Linked DNA regions of Homo sapiens: region 2 is linked to region 1. The links are contacts of gene promoters, found by promoter capture Hi-C in blood cells and fetal thymus (Javierre and others, 2016). All regions are on one chromosome and are shown on one strand. The core of a region is centred on a gene start or on the middle of the fragment in contact, and the rest is flanking DNA. Distances in the headings are between cores, read along the strand shown.

What was found. Contacts are between HindIII fragments. The CHiCAGO score rates a contact against its expected background, and 5 or more counts as called.
Region 2: a fragment that was not itself captured here is called in contact with the fragment with the promoter of GSPT2 in region 1 in 4 of 17 cell types (non-activated CD4 T cells, naive CD8 T cells, total B cells and 1 more); the score reaches 9.7 in non-activated CD4 T cells.

Annotation. Positions count from the first base shown.
Region 1 is chrX:51,739,082-51,746,007 of GRCh38, reverse strand. It overlaps GSPT2 (G1 to S phase transition 2), which reads right to left and starts at 2,566. Exons shown (of 1, transcript NM_018094.5): 1 at 1-2,566. The coding sequence starts at 2,381. The coding sequence ends at 495. The HindIII fragment of the contact is 6,668 bases long and covers 1-3,207 here.
Region 2 is chrX:52,247,628-52,255,005 of GRCh38, reverse strand. All of the region lies in intron 1 of LOC105377209 (a long non-coding RNA gene), which reads left to right. Among named protein-coding and RNA genes, the nearest start is that of SNORA11D, 61 kb to the right of the region's middle. The HindIII fragment of the contact is 1,367 bases long and covers 1,829-3,195 here.

The sequences.
Region 1 (6,926 bases), core at 1,317-3,816:
AAGTAATAAAGCTAATTGAATAGCATTACATAATGACATTTAAACATTATTCAAAAGCATTTCAAATAACCGAAGAGTTTCAAATGGAGTATTTTATTCACATGTTAGTTATCATTTTAACACACACACAAACACTGACACACTCTGGTTTGCGTGGAACAAGGGTGGTCTAAATATCCTAAAAGAAAATGAAAAATTAAAGTACATTAATTTTTCATTACTGTAGGCAATTACGTCCACATCACTTACAAAGCTATTACTGATATTGTCCAAGGAAGCAGAGTGGTACAGAGGAAGGAAACTTGAGGGTAAATTCATCAGTGACATAACAGATCTCAACATGAGAAAGCTGACAAAACATGAATTTTTGCTGTGAAATTTCTCTTTGCAAAATATGAAGAAAAGTCAATCAATGGGCAGTAAATAAGAGTAGGTGGTGAACTTTTGCTGTCAATTCTCCTCACAGTATCTTGCAGAGGCATCAAGAAAATTGCTTAGTCCTTCTCTGGGACCAATTTCAGAACTTTTCCAATTGCAATGGTCTTACCCTCATCTCTTAAAGTAAAACGACCCATCTGAGGAAAATCTTTGAACGTCTCGAGGCAGATGGTTCCTGCTGTCCTTAAACGAGCAATGCATACTTGATCTTGTTTCACGAAGCGGGGTCGTGTCTTACTTTTTTCTCCTGATTTTTTGTCTACCAAGGAGATTAACGCTGTTATCTCAACTTCCTCAATACAAGTATGAATGTGCAGCACCGCATTATAACCTGGGCAGATGATGGATTTGTGCTCAATAATCACTATCTGAACATCAAACGTGCGTCCAGAATGGCAGAGGTTACTAGGATCACAAAGTATGAATCCTGGAAGAATCTCTTCTTCTTCAATTCCCTTCAGTCTGATTTTGAGGTTTTCACCTGGGGCTACAAAATCAGTTTCAGTATCATCAGAAAGTATTCCAAGAACTTCTACATTGTGCTTGTTTGGCATCATCACGAGCTGCTGGCCTTTAAAAATGGACCCGGATTCCAGCTTTCCCAGGACCACAGTGCCCATATCTTTGTACTTATCCACAATTGGCAGTCTTATTGGTCCATCAATTGATCTGTTGAAGTTTGGCAAGTTATCCAAATACGGAATAAATGGTAATCCAGTGTACCAAGGGCAGAAATCTGACTGCTCTTTAATATTTGCTCCGGTCAGTCCTGAGCAGGGCATAAAGTGAATGTCCTTTTTTGGACTGAAGCCTACTTTTTTCAAAAAGGGCACCAGTTTTTCTTTACATTCTTCATATCTCTCGATGCTCCAATTTACTGTGGGATCATCCATCTTATTAATAAGCACTATTAAATGTTTTACCCCTGCCGTTTTTGCCAACATCGCATGTTCTCTTGTCTGTCCACCTTTTTCAAATCCAGTTTCAAACTCTCCTTTCCTGGCAGAGATGACCAGCACAGCCAAATCAGCTTGAGAAGCACCACCAATCATATTTGGGACAAAACTCTTGTGGCCAGGGGCATCTAAAATTGTGAAATGTTTCCTTTCTGTTTCAAAATAGGCACGACCCACTTCGACTGTTTTACCCTTGTCTCGTTCCTCCTGATTTGTATCTAAGGCCCAGGACAAATACCAGGTTTCTCTGTTTTTTTCCTTAGCTTCTCTTTCATATTTCTCCAGTGTTCTTTTGTCAACCATTCCAGTCAAAAACATTATCTGTCCTCCGATGGTTGACTTGCCAGCGTCTACATGGCCAATGAATACTACATTTACGTGTTCTTTCTTAGGTGCACCTGAGGGTACGATCACAGATTTGGATTTTCTTATTTCCTCTTTTTCCTCCATCATTTCCTGGCCACTTTCTTCTGGGGGCCCTGAATCTCCCGAGGAACCACCCCCAGGCTCGGCTTCACTTACTTCTTTACTGTGCTCCCATGATTCTTCTAGGGCCATTTCCACCTCTCCATTTTCTACAACAGGTTCTGAAAGTTCCATGGTAACGGCTGAATTGGAACCTTCAAGCGACACTAACGGTTCCTCTCGGGAAGGTTCCACAGGTGCCCCCCGTCCCATCCTTTTACCTTGAGGGTATCCCGCGCCGGTGCAGGTTTCATCGTTGCTGCCGGAGCCGGCCGGGAGGGTGGGCGGCTGAGTCGGGCCCCGCAGGAAGGACGGCACGAACTCCGCGGCGTGTACGTTAGGCACGAAGGGCTTGGCGTTGACGTTGAGCTTACGGCTGAAAGCCGAGCTGAGGGGCTCGCGCTGGGCCTCGGCCACCGCAGAGGAGACTCCATCCCCGCTCGGGGCCGACCCCGGGGATTCCATGTCCACCTGGTCCCAGCAATCGGGCGCCGAGTCGCTGCTGCTGCTGCCCGAATCCATGGTCTCGGAACTTGCTGTGTGGCAGTGAGGGAGCGGGCTCAACAGGCCAGAAGAGCGGGCTCCGCCGGCGGGGTTAAGGCAGCAAGAGCGAAGGGCCAAGGGGTAGCGACACGAACCTTAGCTGCACCGCGGAGGCAGCTAAGCGCCGATGCTGCATTCGCAACTGCGGCGGCAGCAGCAGATATGGCGGCTCAACACTCTCCTCTTGTGTGTGAGCGGATCTCCTCCCCCAAACCCCAACCACTTCCGACTCCTCCACCCCCGACCCAACGCCGGGCGTGGATTGACCCCTCGCTGCTATCCGTACGCTTGGCTTCCTTACTTCTTCTTAGCCACGGGCTAAGTCCAAAAGTATTATTTTTTAAAACGAAAATTTCCATTCACTTTTTTGTTCACACAGTCTGGCAGAGCAATTTGACCACAATCTGATGATTAAACCTAGACAGGAACACATGGTATACAATTCTACCAAAAGATTCAAGTAAAAGTGATCATTTCTATTGAACAAATGGGAGGCAAGATAAGGGTTAACTATACAGAAATTCAGAAACCCAGCAACTGAAGGGAGAGGCAAGGAATGGGTAGGGAGGGACTCATGAAATATATGAGTCTGTAGCCGAACTTAGGAAATGCAACTTAAGATCACTCATTAATTTGAAATCCACAGGCCTTTTGATTTTCCCTTTCCAGTGGGCCCCCATAAGCCTGTAACTTCTGCTGATGGCTTCTATAGTTTAAGGATAGGGTTACAACTTCTTTTCATGTTAAGCACCCTGGCTGTCTGAGGGGAGAGAATTTCCAAGGAGATCCTTGTTCCAGTGAAGCTTCCAGTCACTTCATATGCAGATGCCTGCACAATGGCTGGCCTGCCATTCAATGGTGGATCACGTAGACAAGCACAGGACTCAGATCACTCTTGTTTTACCAACCAACTGAATTCTGGGTTTATCTGCACTACTCCCCAGCACCTCCCTAGTACATCCTGCATCCACAGGCCTCGGGTTTTCCTGCTTCATTCCGGGGGGCCTGGAATCCTACTCACTGCACTGGCTTTGCTCTAAGAAACAATCAGTGTCATGTTGAACCCCTCTACAGTTTATGGTAATGAGACAGGGCTGTAGGTGTCAGCCTAATTAAACCAATTAAGACTTCTGAGATGAACAAAGACCTTAAGACCCTAATCAAAAGAATCTCACTCTCAGAAAGTGTTAACAGTTGAGTCAAAGCCTCAGCGACCTTGTTTGTAAATTAATTTAGTGCAAACTGACATAGAAAATACAAACTTATTCTCTGAATCTGTTTTTAGTCTTCATGTACTCAAATCTGTCACCTTTTGCTTTTATGAATTCAGGTTTTGTGACATACCTAGAAAGACTATTCAGTCCAAACAATCTGCTTAGTACAAGATGGTGTCACATAGATGGATTTATTTTTTTATTTTGAGACAAAGTTTCACTTTTGTTGCCCAGGCTGGAGTGCAGTGGCATGATCTCAGCTCACTGCAACTTCTGCCTCCTGGGTTCAAGCAATTCTCCTGCCTCAGCTTCCTGAGTAGCTGGGATTACAGGCGTCCGCCACCAAGCTCAGCTAATTTTTCTTAATATATATTTTTAGTAGAGACAGGGTTTCACCATGTTGGCCAGACTGGTCTTGAACTCCTGACCTCAGGTGATCCACCTGCCTCGGCCTCCCAAAGTGCTGGGATTACAGGCATGAGCCACCACGCCTGGCCTCATAGTTGGATATTTAAATCCAACAACAAAGCAAAATATTATAAAACCAAGTACCTGATTATAACTTGAGAATTGTGTTCTCCAGACTTTAGGGGTAGGAAAAAAGACAGACTTGGACCCTTGATGTTTTCACTCTGGGGCTGCCACTATTATACTAGCTCTGTACTGTTTCCACACCTTCATTCTTTTTGCCTCCGGTTATGGATTAATTATTTACAGTGACATAAAGAGAATGTGCACACCTATTCACAATAAACAGGAAGAACTGAGAGGTAGAATGTGCAGAGAGACCCTCCACACAAGTGCTGGAGCCTTCTTGGACATTGTGTGAACCTAGAATGGACATTTCTGGGAGAACCTGTCAAGGTTTTGGCAGCCGTGTTCACATAAGGTAATTCATGCAAGGAAGCAGGAGACATCTGGGATTTTTCCTTCACCTGGGTCGAATGCATTGGTCATGAACATATTGGTATGACTGCTACTTAGTGATATCTCAGAGAACAGAGGATACTTCACTGTTAGAACGATAAAGGAGAAGTCAGAAATAGTCTGTGAATGTCCTCATAATCCATCATTCATGAGGTTCCAGGGGAGGCAGTTCAACGCAAGAGAGAGAAGCACTGACCAGATTGTGTCCAGAGAGATTGGCCTTGGACAAAAATCTTTTGGTTTGTGTGATGGGATGCTTGTCTCCAGTCTTTCTGCCTAAGAGTTCATCAGTAAATGAGAGAATTTTCCTCACCAAAGAGGAAAATTTAAAAAAGAGTGTAGGTGATATCCAACCATTGCTTAATTCAATCTTTTTCCTCCTTTAAAAATCTTTTTTATTGTAAAATATAGCACAAACACAGAAAGTCACATTAAAAATTATAGGTTATTGACTTATGAGAAAGGAAACACACTTGTAACAACCATCCAAGTCAAGAGAAATTTGCCAGCCAGCCCAGAAGGCTTCCTTGTGCCCTGTTCAATCACAAATGACTTCCTCCACCTCTCAATGTAACTGCTATTGTGACATTTATGGTAATAACCTATACGATTTTCCGTATAGTTTTATTACACAAATGTGTACACTCAGACACTACAGTTCAATTTGGCCTGCTTTTTTGATATTTCTTTTAAGTCTTTTTTATCTCTGGATACCCAACCTATCTTCCCCTTTTTCATGTCATTTATTTATTGAGGAAAGTGGATGATGTGACTGGTAGAGAGGTTTTTTTGTTTGTTTTTTTGTTTTTTTACATTCTCAGCTTTGCTGACTGTATGTCTATGGTAGAGTTTAGAATATTCCTTTGTTCTCTGTATTTCCTGTTTATCAATAATTAAATCTATGAGCTTGATCAGATTCAGGTGCAATTTTTTAACAAGAATACTTCAAGGGAATTTTGATTATTTCCATCAAGAGGCACATGAGGTCGGGTTGTGACTCTTTTTACAGTTAGCCACAATTATTGATACTTGTTTAGAGACATATCATTAGAGGTTGCAAAATTGTGATATTGCACTTCTGTCATTCTTTCTGTTTTTATTAACTGGAGTGCTGTTCCAAAAAATTTACCTTCAACAGTTTTGTTACTTTCAGATATAGATTGCAAAGGAAATGCAGGAAAAGTGCTTGATTCTTTCGTGTTATTTAGGAGCTTTAAAAAATAATGAGTTGGTTCCCTAGAATCCTACACACATGACAAATAAGGATTTTAAAAGGGATAATTGTGAATTATTGGATTTACATATATTTGAGGCATTTTGATAAATTTTGCTTACTATACTTATTGATGATCATTTGCCAGTGCCTCTTCTGGTTGAGTTCTGAACACTTTTGAGACTATGCTAGTAGTCCTTGATGGTTTATTTATTATATGGTTTGACAAGATGTACCAGACCAATTATACAAATGTTTGCCAAACCAGGAATACTGGTTCTCAATGATAACATGGAAAGATAGATAGAATTAGAAAATAAAATAATTACTCATTTGATTTATCCCACCTACACATATAGTTGTCTCAGTACCACCACCATCAATATGATTTAAAATAAACAGATTTTTTCTTTGCATAAATGCTCTCTCTATTCTCTGCCTGTATTTCATAGTTGAATTGTATCTATCTGATAGTCAATTTTATTGAGTGCTTCCTAAGCGTAGATCATATTTCAATTATTTTATATGGATTCTCTCATTTAATTTTCCCTATCATCCTTTGAAGAAGGTAATCTTATCACTGTTTTACAGATAAGAAAATAACATTCAGAGAGGCCAGGGATTACTCAACGTCACATAGCTAGTAAATAGCGGACTTGGAGTTCAAACACAGACAATATGATTCTAAGACCACACTGGCTTGTATCATCTATTATATATATATATAAAGAAAGGAATAGGGAGATTTGGCAGAGTTAAATCACAAATAGAGGAAGAAGGTTAAATCTTAGATTATCTGGAAAGAATGGAAATATAATAAATTTAAGAGAGAAAGGATAATTCACTGTAGTTCTTTCATGAGGATTTGTGTTTCTTTCCTGAAGTAGGAGACTGGAAATTGTGAAGGAAGACTAAAATAAGAAAAATGATGAATAGGGGAAGATTTATAATAGGCCCTTATGGTATGGGGGAGGTGGCTGATTTGGGAGTAATAAAATTATTTTTTAAAGAATTTAGGTAAACCAAAACAGCACTAGACTGGAGGACATAATATGTTTAGGTTTTGAGATTCCTCTCTTTCCCCATCTTACATCTAGCATCACTGAGCAACTTGGGGCACAAGCAGAGTCTTAAGTTTCATCCAGGTTTAGGTAACAGTGGTGTATGGTA
Region 2 (7,378 bases), core at 1,263-3,762, 510 kb before region 1:
GCTAAGCAATTATAGCAAGTTGCAAGATACAAGAAAAATCAATCACTGTCATATATATCAGCAGTGAACAAGTGGAATTTGAAAATAAGAGCACAATATAATTTACATTAGTATCCAGAAAAATGAAATGCTTACATATAGATCTAGCAAAATATGTAAAAGATTTATATGAGGAAATGTACAAGTCTCAGATGAAAGAAATCAAAGAACTAAATAAATGTAGAGAGATTCCATATTCATGGGTAGGAAGACAATATTGTCAAGATGCCAATTCTTTTCACCTTAATCTATAGATTCAGTGCAATTCCAATCAAAATCCCAACAGGGCGATTTTGCTGGATTTCCATGGAAATTTACAAATTAATTCTGAAGTTTCTGCTGAGAAAAAAAATGTTGGAAGACTGCCCAACTTTAAGACTTACTATAAAGCTGCAGTAATCAGGACAGTGTGGTATTGGTAAGAGAACAGACACTTAGGTCGATGGAATAGAATAGAGAGCCCAGCAGTAGTTCCAATACAAGTATATTCAATTGAGCTTTGACAAAGGAGCAAAGGCAATACAATGGAGTAAGGTAGTGTTTTCAGCAAACGATATTGAAACAACTGGACATCCACATGTAAAAAATGAATCTATATACAGAACCTACACCCTCCACAAAAATTAACTCAAAGTGAATCACCAACCTAAATGTAAAATGCAAAATTATGAAACTACTAGAAAATAACATCGAAGAAAATCTAGATAACCTTGGGTTTGGTGATGACTTTTTAGATATAATGCCAAAGGTACATTCTATTTAAAAAGTATGGGTAAGCTGGACTTCATTAAAATTTAAAATTTCTGCTCTGTGAAAGACACTTTTAGTAGAATGAAAAGATAAGCCACAGACTGGAAGAAAGTATTAGCAAAAGACACATCTGATAAAGTAACGTTATCCAAAATATATGAATAACTCTTTTTTTGTAGTTCTTTTTTTTTCTTTTTTTTAAATTATACTTTAAGTTTTAGGGTACATGTGCACAACGTGCAGGTTAGTTACATATGTATACATGTGCCATGTTGGTATGCTGCACCCATTAACTTGTCATTTAACATTAGGTATATCTCCTAATGCTATCCCTCCCCCCTGCTCCCACCCCACAACAGGCCCGGGGTGTGTGATGTTCCCCTTCCTGTGTCCATGTGTTCTCATTGTTCAATTCCCACCTATGAGTAAGAACATGCGGTGTTTGGTTTTTTGTCCTTGCGATAGTTTGCTAAGAATGAATAACTCTTAAAACTAAACATTCAGAAAAAAGACAACTCTATTAAAAAATGGGCGAAAGACTTTGGCAGACACCTCACCAAAGAAGATACATAGATGGCAAATGAGCATATGAAAAACTGCTCAACATCGTATGTCATCAGGAAAATAAAACTTAAAACAACAATGAGACGTCATTATATACTTATTAGAACCACCAAAATCCAGAACATTAACACCAAATGCTGACAAGGATGTGGAGTAATGGGAACTCTCATTCATTGTTGTTGGTATAGCCTTGTAAGGCAGTTTGGCAGTTTCTTACAAAATTAAACATATTCTTACTGTATGATCTAGCAGTCAGACTCCTTGGTATTTACTCAATAAGATGAAAACTTATGCCCACGCAAAAACCTGCACATGGATGTTTATAGCAGTTTTATTCATAATTGCCAAAAGTTGGAATCAACAAAGATGTGTTTCAGTACGTGAATAGATAAACTGTGGTACATCCAGACAATGAAATACTATTCAGTACCAAAAATGAGCTATCAGGCCATGAAAAGACATGATGAAGGAAGCTTAAAATGCATATAACTAAGTGAAAGAAGTCAATCTGAAAAGACTACATACTGTATTAGTTTAAATATTTGATAGTCTGGAAAAGACAAAACGAAGGAGACTATAAAAAGGTCAGTGGTTGCCAGAAGTTAGAAGGAAGGGATGATAAATAGGCAGAACACATATTTTTAGAGCAGTGAAATTATTCTGTATGATACTATAATGGTGGACACATGTCTTTATACATTTGTCCAAACCTATAGAATGTACAACGCCATATGTAAAACCTAATGTAAATTATGGACTTTGGGTGATAATGTGTCAAAGTAGATTCATTGGTTGTAACAAATGTACTACTCTGGGGGGGGGGCGGATATTAATAGTCAGGGAGGCTGTGAGTGTGTATACAGAGTTCTTCCTGTTCAGTTTCGTTGTGTACCTGAAACTGTTCTAAAAAATAAAGCTGGTTAAAAAAAGTCACATACCAATAAGTTTTAAGTTTATCATGTAAGTGAGGTTTGAAAGAATTCTGATGGGAGTATGTTTTTAGAAAATCCCTAATATCACTCTGTAAGGAACAGACAAGAATTATGGAGACCTCCTCTTTCAGGTAGGGAATATCATAACCTGCTTCATTTGTCATTGTTAAAATGTTTATCTTGGGAATCTTTTGAATATTTCATGATGAAGTATTCATGCCTTTATCTGGGACACTGGAATGTTATCAGATCCTTTCTCTTTAGCAAAATTACTCATGCTCATATTTTTAATTTGTTGGATAAAAAATCTACTAAATAGGTAACCTTACATTTAGGAGCCATGAATGTATTAGTCCCCTGGCACAGGTAAATATTATCAACTATAACCATTAAACACCAAGGTGTGTGTTAATAAAATAAGCTGCAATATGTTGTGAATGTTTCTCAAGTTATATGTTGTGTTATAATTCACCGTGAGTCAGTATTGTTAACACAGTCCGATACTGAGTCTTTTAGCCAAGTCTTTCTTGTAGTGCTCAGATGAACTTAAATAGAAAAATGCATCCCATCCAGAAACCATTTTACCACATCTATCTTAAGTTTGTCGTGAGGTCTTTCATTCTCATTTTCTGAGCATGTTTTAGGGAATACTTAGTGCATTACCATTTCTCTAGGGTTCAATTTGAGTGATGGCACCATGTGATATGAGTGTGATCTCAGTAGTGATTTTATTTTGGGATGGCAGATGAATGTGGGCATGAACAGAGCCTATGGGAACAGAGAACTGATTTTCCAGTAGTGAACAAACTGTTATAGAACAGGCAGCTTAGGATGGATTATAGAGACTGTAGAGAAGACACCACCTGTTCATGTGGAAGCATATTTGGAAACTGATCACCAAAGAGAAGCTTATCTCATCCTATTTTGACTCTATTCACAGTTGACATTGACCTGCATGAGATTTTGTGACAAGGAAAAAATTATCTATTTATCTAATCTATCTATCTACCTACTTACATACCTATCTCTATCTATCTATCAATTAATCATCTATCTATATTGGTAAGTGGTAGTGATAATGCAGGACATCTGGGCTACCTCTAAGTAAGGAGAAAATTTGAAATACAAGACTTAGTGATAGCTGGAAGGCATGTCTTAAAAGTGAGTGATATATGTTTTCTATGTGAAGGCAATTGTAAAATGTGAATGAAGTACATAAAATAACATTGTATGCAAGGAAAGATGATGATTATTTAGATATGGGGAAGTAATTACTGAAGAGGACCGTAAGTGGCCAATTCCAACAGAAGCCAGTGAGTGAGTCAGCCATGGGATGTATTTGCAATTTGGATCATATAAATGTCAAGTTCAAAGTTCTGAGGGCTTAAATGAGGCCCAAATGAAGACAACCTGTTTTTGTGAGATCAATTTAAAAACCAGAATACTGGCTTCCTGTTATCTGAGGTTGATGCATGAGCCCCTGAGGAAAGAGACAAGGGTGGGGGAACCACTGGAATTCAGGAGGCCTTGACCATCTTCACATCAACAGATATTTACCTTATCCCTTCATGCATGGAATCCACCAACCATGCCTGAAAACACCAAGTACTGACCTCTAGATGGTAGCATGATTAGGGAATGGTTTCATGTGATGCTTCAATGTGAGTTGTGACATTCGGGTCACCATCTATACCATCTATAATGGAGTGAGAGACATCCAAATGTATATACTGGTGAGAATCTGACAGTGTGGGGCTAGTATTTGTCCAGAGGACACAAAAATGCCCCACTTTTACCCTACACTGCTGCTCTGTCTCTTCCCAGGGTTTTCTCTGAAGGAGACACGCACACAAGGACCCTGAATATAATTCACGGGGCCAATTCCCATGACCCTCAATGCAGAGATCTCAGGCCAAGCTGGGTTGAAGCACAGGCCCAGACTCAAGAAGGAAGCAGGGTCTCTCCAACTCTCTAACTCTGCATCTTATAACCAGTTGACCCCTAGTGTGTGGAAAACAGAGTCCCAAATCTCCAGTAAGAAGAAAGGAATAGGGAGTAATGTGGCAGAGCCCAGCCTTCATAGTAGGCACTGGCTCAGCTTATCACTTTGGTATTGTGAGAGGGAAGAGCATGGCCATGTCCTACACGCATGGGTGTCACATTGGAAGGTGGTACTGCTGATAGTGCTCCTGAATCTGACCCATCACATCAGTCTTCCCTTGTCCAAGGGAGGAGTGACAAAAGGGCTTGGGAGAAAAGCTGTTTTCTGTAAGATTAGGAATACTGAAAAGAGAAACCTGCCCCTACCTCCAGTGACCTGGAACTATAGATAGAAACTGGTCTGAACATAGAGAAAGTAGGATGTGTGTAAAAAATTGATTTTGCTATTAAAATCTCAAATATATCAAATCTGAAAACTTAAAATGTGGGTCAGTTGACAAAACCAAAGGTAAATTCACAAAAGGAAATTTTCAATAGAAAATTAAAAAGGAACAAAATCTTGCATATACATGCCCAAGATTTTAAGGTTTTTAATCATAGTGTTAATAAGCTACATGCTTTGATTGACAATATATTGTTACACTTACAATATATAACAGGGTGAGTTATACATAAATTTAAAAACAGAACAATGACTTCATAAATTTATTAGAACATTTTTATTGTTTTAAAAATCAAGCACTGGAATTGTTTTAAGAGCTTGTAGCAAAAAACATCAAGTACTGCAAGAAAATATGAAGGCAGATAAATTAAATTAAATCAAATTGCAACCTCCAGAATTAGCTAGTTCGGACACTGGGTCAAAATCATTACAAATATCTTTTTATTCACTATGAAATAAATGGATAGACTAGTAGATAGCCAGAAAGAGAGATAATTTTACAGAAATAAATTTTACAATGATGAGCTTATACTATATGTGCTATTCAAGTTTTTAAAGTACTAGATTTTATTTTACTAGACTACGATAAAATAAAGGGAAGGAGAACAAGAAAGAGGTGAATCTTTAGTTAATAATTTCTCTAACTGAAAAGATATTCATTCCTGAAAGTTTCCTTCAGGGTTAAGCTAAAAGAATTTCAAAAACAACACCAGTTTGGAACCACAATTATTTTTAATGACCTTTAAGAATTTATGCAAAAAAACAGGAAATTCCTTGCTTTGGAAGATGAAATTTCAGGAGGATAAGCTCCTTGTACTTTCTGCCACACTGTCCTCTGCCTTCTAATTTTTCACATACATTTAGTCATTACAGTATGACATATGTAAAAGTATAGAAATTATAAGTATATTGCTCTATGAAATTGCACAGTGAACATACCTATGTAATGACCACTCAAATTAAAAGTTAGTATAATGCATAATTCCCTACAAGTCCCCTTTGTTTCCCTTCACAGTTCTCAGTTATCTTGATCCCTCTCCCACAAAAGTAACTACTATCCTTACCTCCAATGGCCTTTTTTTGTCTGATTTTAAATTTATGTAAGTAGAATCATATGATATGCAGTCTTTTGTGTTTAGCTCCTTTAGCTCAACATAATTTTCCCATGTTTTATTTATGCTCTTGGATATGGTAGTTTTTCAGTCATTGTATTGCTACAACGTATTTCATCATATGAATGTAGGAAAATTCATTTATTAATTCTACTCATTGTGTCTGCAATATTATATATTGTGCTGTATGAACAATCTTGCACATATTTTTTGGTGATAATTATACTCGTGTGTGGATTTCCCTAAGTATTTACCTGTATGTGGAACTACTAGATCATAGGACATTGCATACATCCAGCTTTCTTATATGCTACCAAAGTGGCATGTAAGTCTCAAAATGGCCATATAAATTTACACTCCAATCAGCTGTGTATCACAGTTTGTTTCTCCACATTCACTAAAATTTGGCATTTTTTTCCCTTTTAGCCACTCAAGTTGACACACAGTGGCAATGTATAGGTTTAATTTCCTGATGCCTAATGATGTAAACCATGCTGTCACATATTTTTTAGTGATTTGGAATATTTTGTGCAGTGCCTGTTCTACACTTTTGCCATTTTTTCTGTTAATTTGTTTGTCTTCTTTATGTTGATTTTTGGTGTTCTTTACACATCCTTAGTAAAAAAAAATTTTGGAGATATGTATCACATAATATATCCCATCCTGTGGCTTGTATTTTCACTCTCTTAATAGTATCTTTTGATGAACAGAAGTTCTTCATGTTAATTGTAAGGAATACAATAATAATCATTTTTTATTCTTTATACCCTGCATATACACATATATAAACTTAAAAATCTTTAACTTTTTGACTGTTTGGGCTTTGTTTAATCTTCAAAGTGGAAATTTTACAAACAACATTACCCGATCACAATGTAATGAAACAAAAAATTATAAATAAACTAAGAAAGCACACAAGGCCTTCCGACTGGAATTTTAAGAAAAGTCTGTTTTAAAACTCGCAGGTAAAGTGGGAAGTACAAACAAAAATGATAGGATTTCTAAACAAAGAATAATGAAAACACTGTGTATGAGAATCTATGGCATACATTTAAAATGATGATCAAAGAAAAAATATCTAGTCTTATACATTTTCATCAATAAAAATGAAGGAATGAAAATAAATTAATTGACCTCCCATCTCAAAAAGCTAAAAAAAGCAATCAAATAAACCAAAAGAAAGCACAAGAAAGAAAATAATAAAGAAAAAAGGAGAAAGTAATGAGTTAGAAGAGAGATAAATACTAGATCTATAAATGCTAGATGTATTAGTTAATTAAAATCATAGATTTTTAGAAAAAATAAAGTAGGCAACACACTAGCTAACTTCACTGTATTAACAACCAGAGAAATTACAAATATACAATCTAAGCTATAATGGATAATAACAGTTAAAATGAGAGTACTTTTTTAAAAATCATAAATATTTCTTTCTGATACTCTATGCATATAAAATTGAAACCCAAATGAAATGTATAATTGTTTAGGAAAATACTGTGTGTCAACATTGACTCCATTAGAGATGGAAAATTTAAACAGACTAAGTTTCATAGAAAGAATAAAATATAAATTTATAACTATCCCATTAAAATCTCCAA